2 separate regions of the Homo sapiens genome follow, and region 1 is linked to region 2. The links are contacts of gene promoters, found by promoter capture Hi-C in blood cells and fetal thymus (Javierre and others, 2016). All regions are on one chromosome and are shown on one strand. The core of a region is centred on a gene start or on the middle of the fragment in contact, and the rest is flanking DNA. Distances in the headings are between cores, read along the strand shown.

Region 1 (3,590 bases), core at 980-3,479, 790 kb before region 2:
GAGCCACCACACCCGGCCAGAAGTAGGCCTTTACCCACTACATGCCTTCTTTTACTTATCTGCACAATGAAGATTAAAAATAGTTTCTTGGCCTGGCATGGTGCCTCACACCTGTAATTCCAGCACTTTGGGAGGCTGAGGTGGGCAGATCATTTGAGGTCAGAAGTTCAAGACCAGTGTGGCCAACGTGGCGAAACCCCATCTCTACTAAAAATACAAAAAGTAGCCAGGCATGGTGGCACGTGCCTGTAGTCCCAGACACTCAGGAGACTGAGGCACAAGAATCTCTTGAACCTGGGAGATGGAGGTTGCAGTGAGCTGACATCGAGCCATTGCACTCCAGCCTGGGGGACAGAGCAAGACTCTGTCTCAAAAAAAAAAAAAAAAAAGTCTCTTATCATAGGGTTACTGTGAGAATTAAATTGCTCCATGTTTAATTGATACATGATAAACTGATACTTAGCACAGGGCCTAGTAAATATCAGTGCTCTAGTAGTGCCTGCCCATATTATTATCATTGTTTGTGTCATTTATCTCTGTAGTAGGAAGTATATACAATCCTATTGCATAGGTTTAAGGGAATTAATCCACTAAAGTGTTTGGAACAGAGCCTGGCACATATTGCTATGTAACTGCATCATCATCATCATCCCTTTTTAATAGATGAGAAAACTGAATTTCAGAGAGGGTAGTCTGATCTGAAATTCACCTATTATTCCAGCTTCTCTCTTCCAAATACGGCCTCTGTGCCCTGTTTCTTCCCCCAGGAGGAGATGAACGGCTGGCTGGAGGCTGTAGCTTCCTCGGTGGCGGAACACGCAGAGATCGCCCGCTGGGGCCAGACACTACCCACTACTTCATCCACAGATGAGGGCAACCCTAAGAGGGAAGGCGGAGATCGCAGGGCCAGCGGGCGCAGGAAGTGACTTCCCACCCCCAGGACCTGACACATCTCGTCTCCCCTCTTTTCCGCACTGTGGGCACAAAGACACTTTTTCTTCCGCAGGGGCGGGAGCCCCTAGTTCCAACACTGAGGACGCGTGACATGGTGGGCACCGGAAAGGAGGGGACTTCTCCTGCACCCCAAGAAGTGGTGGGGAGATTGCTGCCCCTATAGCCATATCTCGGCCCCTTCCCACTCACCACCCCCACCCCAGGTGCTGGGGGTCCCTTATTTTTATGCAATAACTGAGCTTGATGGGGGTGGGCAGGGGGCCAGTTGAGCCAAGCCCCCAGCCCCGATCTGCAGATCCTGCCCCAAGAAGCTGGGGTGGTGGGGGCAGTAATTCCTGCCCCCCTCTCTGCCCTAGGGATGGGCACGGGGGCGCTGGTGAGGTCCCCTGGACCATCCAGGGTGCTAGGGGGCAGGGAGGGGACACCCCCTCCCCGCCTTTACCTCACTTCCAATGCTGCCTTGATCTCTGTCTGGGAGGGGGGAGTGAAGGGGCCCTAGCCCCCTGCACTCCGCCGCCTCAGAGCCATGCGGTTAATTCCTGACTTAGTTTATTTTTGCAAAACGTCGATCTCCTCCTCCCCCGCCCCGCATCCGCGAAGGCTTTTAATGGGAGGGGCGTCAAAGCTCAAAACTGTTTTCCTCTCTCCTCCCCCCTCCAGTTGTAAATGCCACTTCATGAGGGGAGGGGCGAGGGGAAGCCCACCCCTGCATGCTTCTGGCTGGAGCACCTCCCTGGGGAGTCGGGGGATTGGGTTGTGGGCAGTCCCCATGGCCGCCTGGAGAAGCCGCTGGGGCCCGGGGGTGTGGGGCGGTGTGGCGGGCGCACACTGTATGTACCTATAATAAACCCTTTGGCTTTGACGGTCTATGGTCCTTTGTTTGGGTTTTCTGGGCTGCGCCCGGGAGGATTGAAAGGAGGGCTGTGGTGGCTGTAGGGGTGGGTGCGGGGTGGGGAGAGGGGCACGGGGGTACCGTGGCTGCGGAGAACATCCAGATGTACCCTTTTATGTGGACTTAATTTCGGGGTCTAAACACACGCCCCTTGACGAGAACCTAGAGGGATGGAGAATATTTCGTTATGCTTCGTAATAAACTTCCCCAAAGGAGACTCCGGGTCCGCCCCGTCAAGTTCAGGAAAGGCGGACCCCTTTAAGGAGGCGGAAAAGTTAACCGCGATGGGCAGGCGCTCTGTCCAATCGCTAGTGACTCCTGGAGTCTCTGGCCCAATGAGCAGCCTATGGAGGCGGGGTCCGGGTGCACACCCGGAAGTGGGTGCGGGCCAGCCGGCTCGCCCGGGGGCCATGGCAGCAGCGGCTACTGCAGCCGAGGGGGTCCCCAGTCGGGGGCCTCCCGGGGAAGTCATTCATCTGAATGTGGGAGGCAAGAGGTGAGTGTGGGAGACTCCTGAGGTCCCATCCTCGGGGGCGGGAAGCGGGGTGGGAGTATCCGCCTCTCCTGGGGGAATCCCTGTCCATCAAGGGTTGCTCCGCCCCCCCCCCCTTTGGAGGCGCGAGATTCTGGAAAAACGCCGGGGGAGGGGGAAGGGGAGGGAACCCTGGATCCTGCGGGAGGGGGACGCATTCCTCACCCGCTCCTCTTCATCTCTTGCGTCCGTTTACCTTCCCCGCCCAGATTCAGTACCTCTCGCCAGACTCTCACCTGGATCCCAGACTCCTTCTTCTCCAGGTGATCGGGAGAGCGAGTTTGGGGCGAGGGTAGGAGGGATGGAGAGGGCGTGGGAGACCTAATATCCACTCCCCCGGCCCGTGACGCCTGCTCGGTGTCCCTTCCCTGCAGTCTTCTGAGCGGACGCATCTCGACGCTGAAAGATGAGACCGGAGCAGTGAGTCGGACAAGAACTGAAATGGGATGGGGGGGAGGGGTTGGTAGGAAGAGGGGCAGGACCCCACTCAGTCCTGCCTTTTACCCCATCCATCCTCTGCCCCCCTTTCCCGCAGATCTTCATCGACAGGGACCCTACAGTCTTCGCCCCCATCCTCAACTTCCTGCGCACCAAAGAGTTGGATCCCAGGTTGGCATGGAAAAAGGGGAGGGAGTCCCTCACTGTCTTCAGTCCCTGAGGAGTTCTTTCACCTCCTCTGAATGTCCACGTGAGCTCCATTCTATTAGAATTCTCATTCAGAACCTTGATCACAGGCCGGGCGCGCCGGGATTGCTCACGCCTGTAATCCCAACACTTTGGGAGGCCGAGGTGGGAGGATCACTTGAGCCCAGGATTTGGAGACTAGCCTGGGCAACATAGCGAGACCCCTTCTCTAAAAAAGCAAACAGGCAAAACTTCATGAGAATCTTGATCATGTTAAAATTTTATGTCCTTCGATTTCTCCCTACACACACACACACACACACACACACACACACACACACACACACTCAACATTTCCTCCACCCATATCATCACTCCTTAGCATCTTTATTCCATCAAAACTTTCTACCCCTTGACATTCTCTGTGCAGTTTTGAAAATTACCCTCTCAGCATTCTCTGTTCACCCCCACACCTAGACCCTGACCTCTAGTCAATTCTACTACCCAGGGGTGTCCACGGTTCCAGCCTCCTCCATGAAGCCCAGTTCTATGGGCTCACTCCTCTGGGTAAGTGGGAGCCCCCAGCTA
Region 2 (3,769 bases), core at 234-2,733:
GAAGAGAAGTGCCCAAGTTCACATAATCAGCCCAAGGGTGCCTTAACAAGCAATAACTGGTTTTGAACCCAGGCAGTCTGTGCTCTTAACCTCAAACCTGTGCTGCTTCTTAGCTACTATTAGCTTCACTTTGAAACAAGGAAACTGAGGCTCAAAGTGGTCGAGTCCAAAGGTCTCCAATTAATAGGTGGGGGAGTTAATATTTAAATGCAGATCTGGCAGCCCATGACCCTAACCATTACACTATACCATGACTCTATAGGGCCTCAGTTGGGGAAGCATGAACAAAATTACTTTCCTGGGACGTGGCGGCTCACGTTTTTAATCCTAGCACTTTGAGAGGCTGAAGTGGGTGGCCTGTTTGAGCGCAGGAGTTCGAGACCAGCCTGGGCAACATAGCGAGACCCTGTCTCTACAAAAAATAAAAAAAATTAGCCAGATTTGGTGGTGCGTGTCTGTAGTCCCAGCTTCTCAGGAGGCTGAGGCGGGAGGATCACTAGAGCCCGAGAGTTCGAGGCTGCACTGAGCTATGATCACACCACCTTACTCCAGCCCGGGCGCAGAGAGAGACCCTGTCTGTATCCCACCCCTCACACACACAAAGATGGGAGCTTGAGACTCATGTGGACAGGGTGTGGGCTGGGCCTGGAGTACTGAGAACTGATGGAAATGAGGTTAAGAGTCTGCGTTAAGGGGTGGAGGAAGGAGCATGTAGCCTCTAGGCTAGGGGTCTTGGTGTGGAAATGAACCAGGCTTGGGGGAATACCTGTGTGAATGCCCCACTTGCAGAAGAGGCTACTTTCCGAGAAACCGCTGGCCCCTATGATCTGCCCGATCACGTGCACCTCAGCCATGGCCCTGGGAGGGGAAAAATATAATCACAACCCTGTGAGGTAAGTGTATTATCTCCATTTGACGGGGGGGAAACTGAGGCCCAGCAAGTAAAGGGTAGTACTAGGATTCCAAGCTAGCTTCGTCACACCCCTGAGGCTGAGGTCTTGACCACAGATCCTAATTGCCAACCCATGAAAGCCTGGAAAAAATGGGGGGACCCTTGTCTGGGGAACCAGCATTTAACTCTGGGAAGTCCAAAATAACCTTTTCGGGTTCAGGTCGGCGGAAAGCCCCGCCCGAAGGGGCTATGGCTCCGCCCACGAGCGCAAAAGACCCGCCTTCCGCGTCACGCCAGCCACCCCGCTTCCCTCCCCCAGCAAGCTCCATAAGGCGCATGCGTTATGAGTTCAGGTCCGACTTAACCCCGCCTCTAAGCGCAGCGCATGCGTCATTCCTACCTTAGCGCACTTAACGGTTAGGAGAGGAGAAAGCGGCAACCGGGGTTGTAGTTCATGGGCTTGACTGCTTCTTTTCTCCGCGGGCGCCGACCAGGCCTGGCTCGCGCCTCTCCCAGGACCCGCCTGGCTGCGAGATATGTAAGCCGCGATACTTCCGCGACCGCGCTCGTCTTGGTTTCCGTGGTTGTTGCTGGGGCAACAGCAGGCTCCTCCCCTAGCTTTGTACTCGCTCTGCGCGCTACTAATTGGTGCTAGCCGTCTGCGGGGGGCGGGGTGAAGCTGTGATGGACATTTTCCTCCTCCGCTCCATTTTGGGAAAATAGCGTCTCTCCAGCTACGGCAAAGGGTTCCGCCATTTTGGGCGTGGCTAGGAAGCTGCCATGTTGAGTGTGGCTGAGGAAGTTTGAGTGCAGTTTCTCCCAGATACCTTCTTTACCAAAAAAGCAAATCCCTAACTGCTCCGTGCTGCGCCTACCCCACCGAAGAGCTCTCTGTGGTCCGGGATCACAAATCAGAGATTGAACCAGGACCAAGGGGGAATTCCTTCCAGGACCTCGTGTACATCCCCGGCCTTGTAACTGGAAAACAAAGCAAAAAAATCACTCCTCATTCAGAGAGTGGAGAAGTTGGGGAGTGGGTTCTGCTTCCGTTTTAGAGTTCCCCTAGGTTTCTCAAGGACAAGGAAGGAAGGAAGTTGGATAAGTCCAACTTCCTTCTCGGAGCTACTACCAAGTTCACTGTTACTGCTTGATTCTGAGCAAGGAGCGGTTGGGGTAGCGAAGAGAAATGAGGAACTAAGATTCCCTTATTTGCAGAAAATCCTCTTTCCTATTGATTGATTTATCAATCAAGAAATGGAGATGTTGTCCCTGGATGCCATCCTAGATGCCATCATTTCCCACATCAAGCCAGTCATCAGGTCCCATCAAGGCTCCTTAAAAGGGTCTCACTCTGTCACCCAGGCTGGAGTACGGTGGCTCGATCACAGCTCATTGCAGCCTCTTAACTCCTGGGTTCAAGGGATCCTCCTACCTCAGCCTCCCATGTAGCTGGTATCACAGACATGCACCACCACGGCTGGCTAATTCTTTTTTTTTTTTTTAAGAGATGGAGTCCTGCTATGTTGCTATGTTGCCCAGTCTTGTCTTGACCTCCTGGGCTCTAGCTATCCTCCCAGTTCTCCCTCCCAAACTGCCGGGATTACAGGCGTGAGCCACCCAGCCAGGCCAATAGATACAAAGTATTTACAAGCTACCATTGGCTAGGCGCGGTGGCTCATAACTGTAATCCCAGCCCTTTGGAAGGCTGAGGCGGGAAGAGCTCTTGAGGCCAGAAGTTCGAATATAGGGAGACCCCATTAATAATGCATATATCAACTAGTGAAGTATTCCATTGAATTGTTTAATATAAATGTTATCCTATTGAAATGTTGTACCCTCGTTATAATTTTGGTTTTTTACTTTTTGAGATGGCGTCTCCCCCTGTCATCCAGGCTGGAGTGCAGTGGTGCGATCCCAGCTCACTGCAATCTCTGCCTCCCGGGTTCAAGAGATTCTCCTGCCTCAGCCTCCCGAGTAGCTGGGACTACAGGCGTGCACCACCACACCCAGCTAATTTTTGTATTTTTAGTAGAGACGGGTTTTCACCATATTGGCCAGACCGGTCTCAAACTCCTGACCTCAGGTGGTCCACCCGCCTCAGCCTCCCAAAGTGCTGGGATTACAGGCGTTAGCCACCGTGACCGGCCGGGTTTTTTTTTTTTTTTTTTTTTTTGACAGAGTCTCCCTCTGTCGCCCAGGCTGGAGTGCAGTGGCATGATCTCTGCTCACCACAACCTCCGCCTCCCAGGTTCAAGCAATTCTTCTGTCTCAGCCTCCTTAGTAGCTGGGATTGCAGGCACCCACCACTATATCTAGCTAATGTTTGTGCTTTTAGTAGAGATGGAGTTCCACCATGTTGGTCAGGCTGGTCTCGAACTCCTGGCCTCATGTGATCCTTCTGCCTCAGCCTCCCAAAGTGCTGGGATTACAGGCATGAGCCACCTCGCCTGGGCCCAGCTACTTTTTGTATTTTCTTTTTTATTTTATTTATTTACTTTTTTTTTTTTTTTTTTTTGAGACAGAATCTTGCTCTGTTGCCCAGGCTGGAGTGAGCCTCTGCACCTGGCAGAGGTTTCACTTTTAAATGATCTTTCTGTCCTTTAAGCTGGAGCTGGGGAAAATGTATTTATTTATTTATTTATTTCTGGATGCTGTGTGGGTGAGGTAGACAGCTCTAACCTTTCAGCTCTTGGGGCCCCTGGTCCCCTAGTGGTGGCACCAGCCTTGCATTCTCTTTTCTCAAGCCCCCATTTTGTCCATCAGGAAATCTTACTGCCTCTACTTTTGAAATACACCCTAAATCCCACTTCTCACCTCTTTGTCGCCCTGCACCTTGATCTGTCCAAGTTCATCTATCACCTGGACTATGACAGGGAC

Evidence for each region. Contacts are between HindIII fragments. The CHiCAGO score rates a contact against its expected background, and 5 or more counts as called.
Region 1: the fragment with the promoter of SHKBP1 here is called in contact with the fragment with the promoter of B9D2 in region 2 in 1 of 17 cell types (neutrophils); the score reaches 5.1 in neutrophils.

Annotation. Positions count from the first base shown.
Region 1 is chr19:40,574,644-40,578,233 of GRCh38, forward strand. It overlaps SHKBP1 (SH3KBP1 binding protein 1), which reads left to right and starts at 2,230. Exons shown (of 18, transcript NM_138392.4): 1 at 2,230-2,342; 2 at 2,588-2,641; 3 at 2,753-2,798; 4 at 2,914-2,987; 5 at 3,511-3,569. The coding sequence starts at 2,257. SPTBN4 (spectrin beta, non-erythrocytic 4) reads left to right here. Exons shown (of 36, transcript NM_020971.3): 36 at 768-1,821. The coding sequence ends at 926. RefSeq lists silencers at 1,619-1,708, 2,059-2,238, 2,259-2,328. The HindIII fragment of the contact is 21,373 bases long and covers 1-3,590 here.
Region 2 is chr19:41,362,666-41,366,434 of GRCh38, forward strand. It overlaps B9D2 (B9 domain containing 2), which reads right to left and starts at 1,484. Exons shown (of 4, transcript NM_030578.4): 1 at 1,293-1,484; 2 at 767-858. The coding sequence starts at 854. It also overlaps a transcript of TMEM91 not described here. RefSeq lists an enhancer at 1,340-1,459. The HindIII fragment of the contact is 18,483 bases long and covers 1-3,769 here.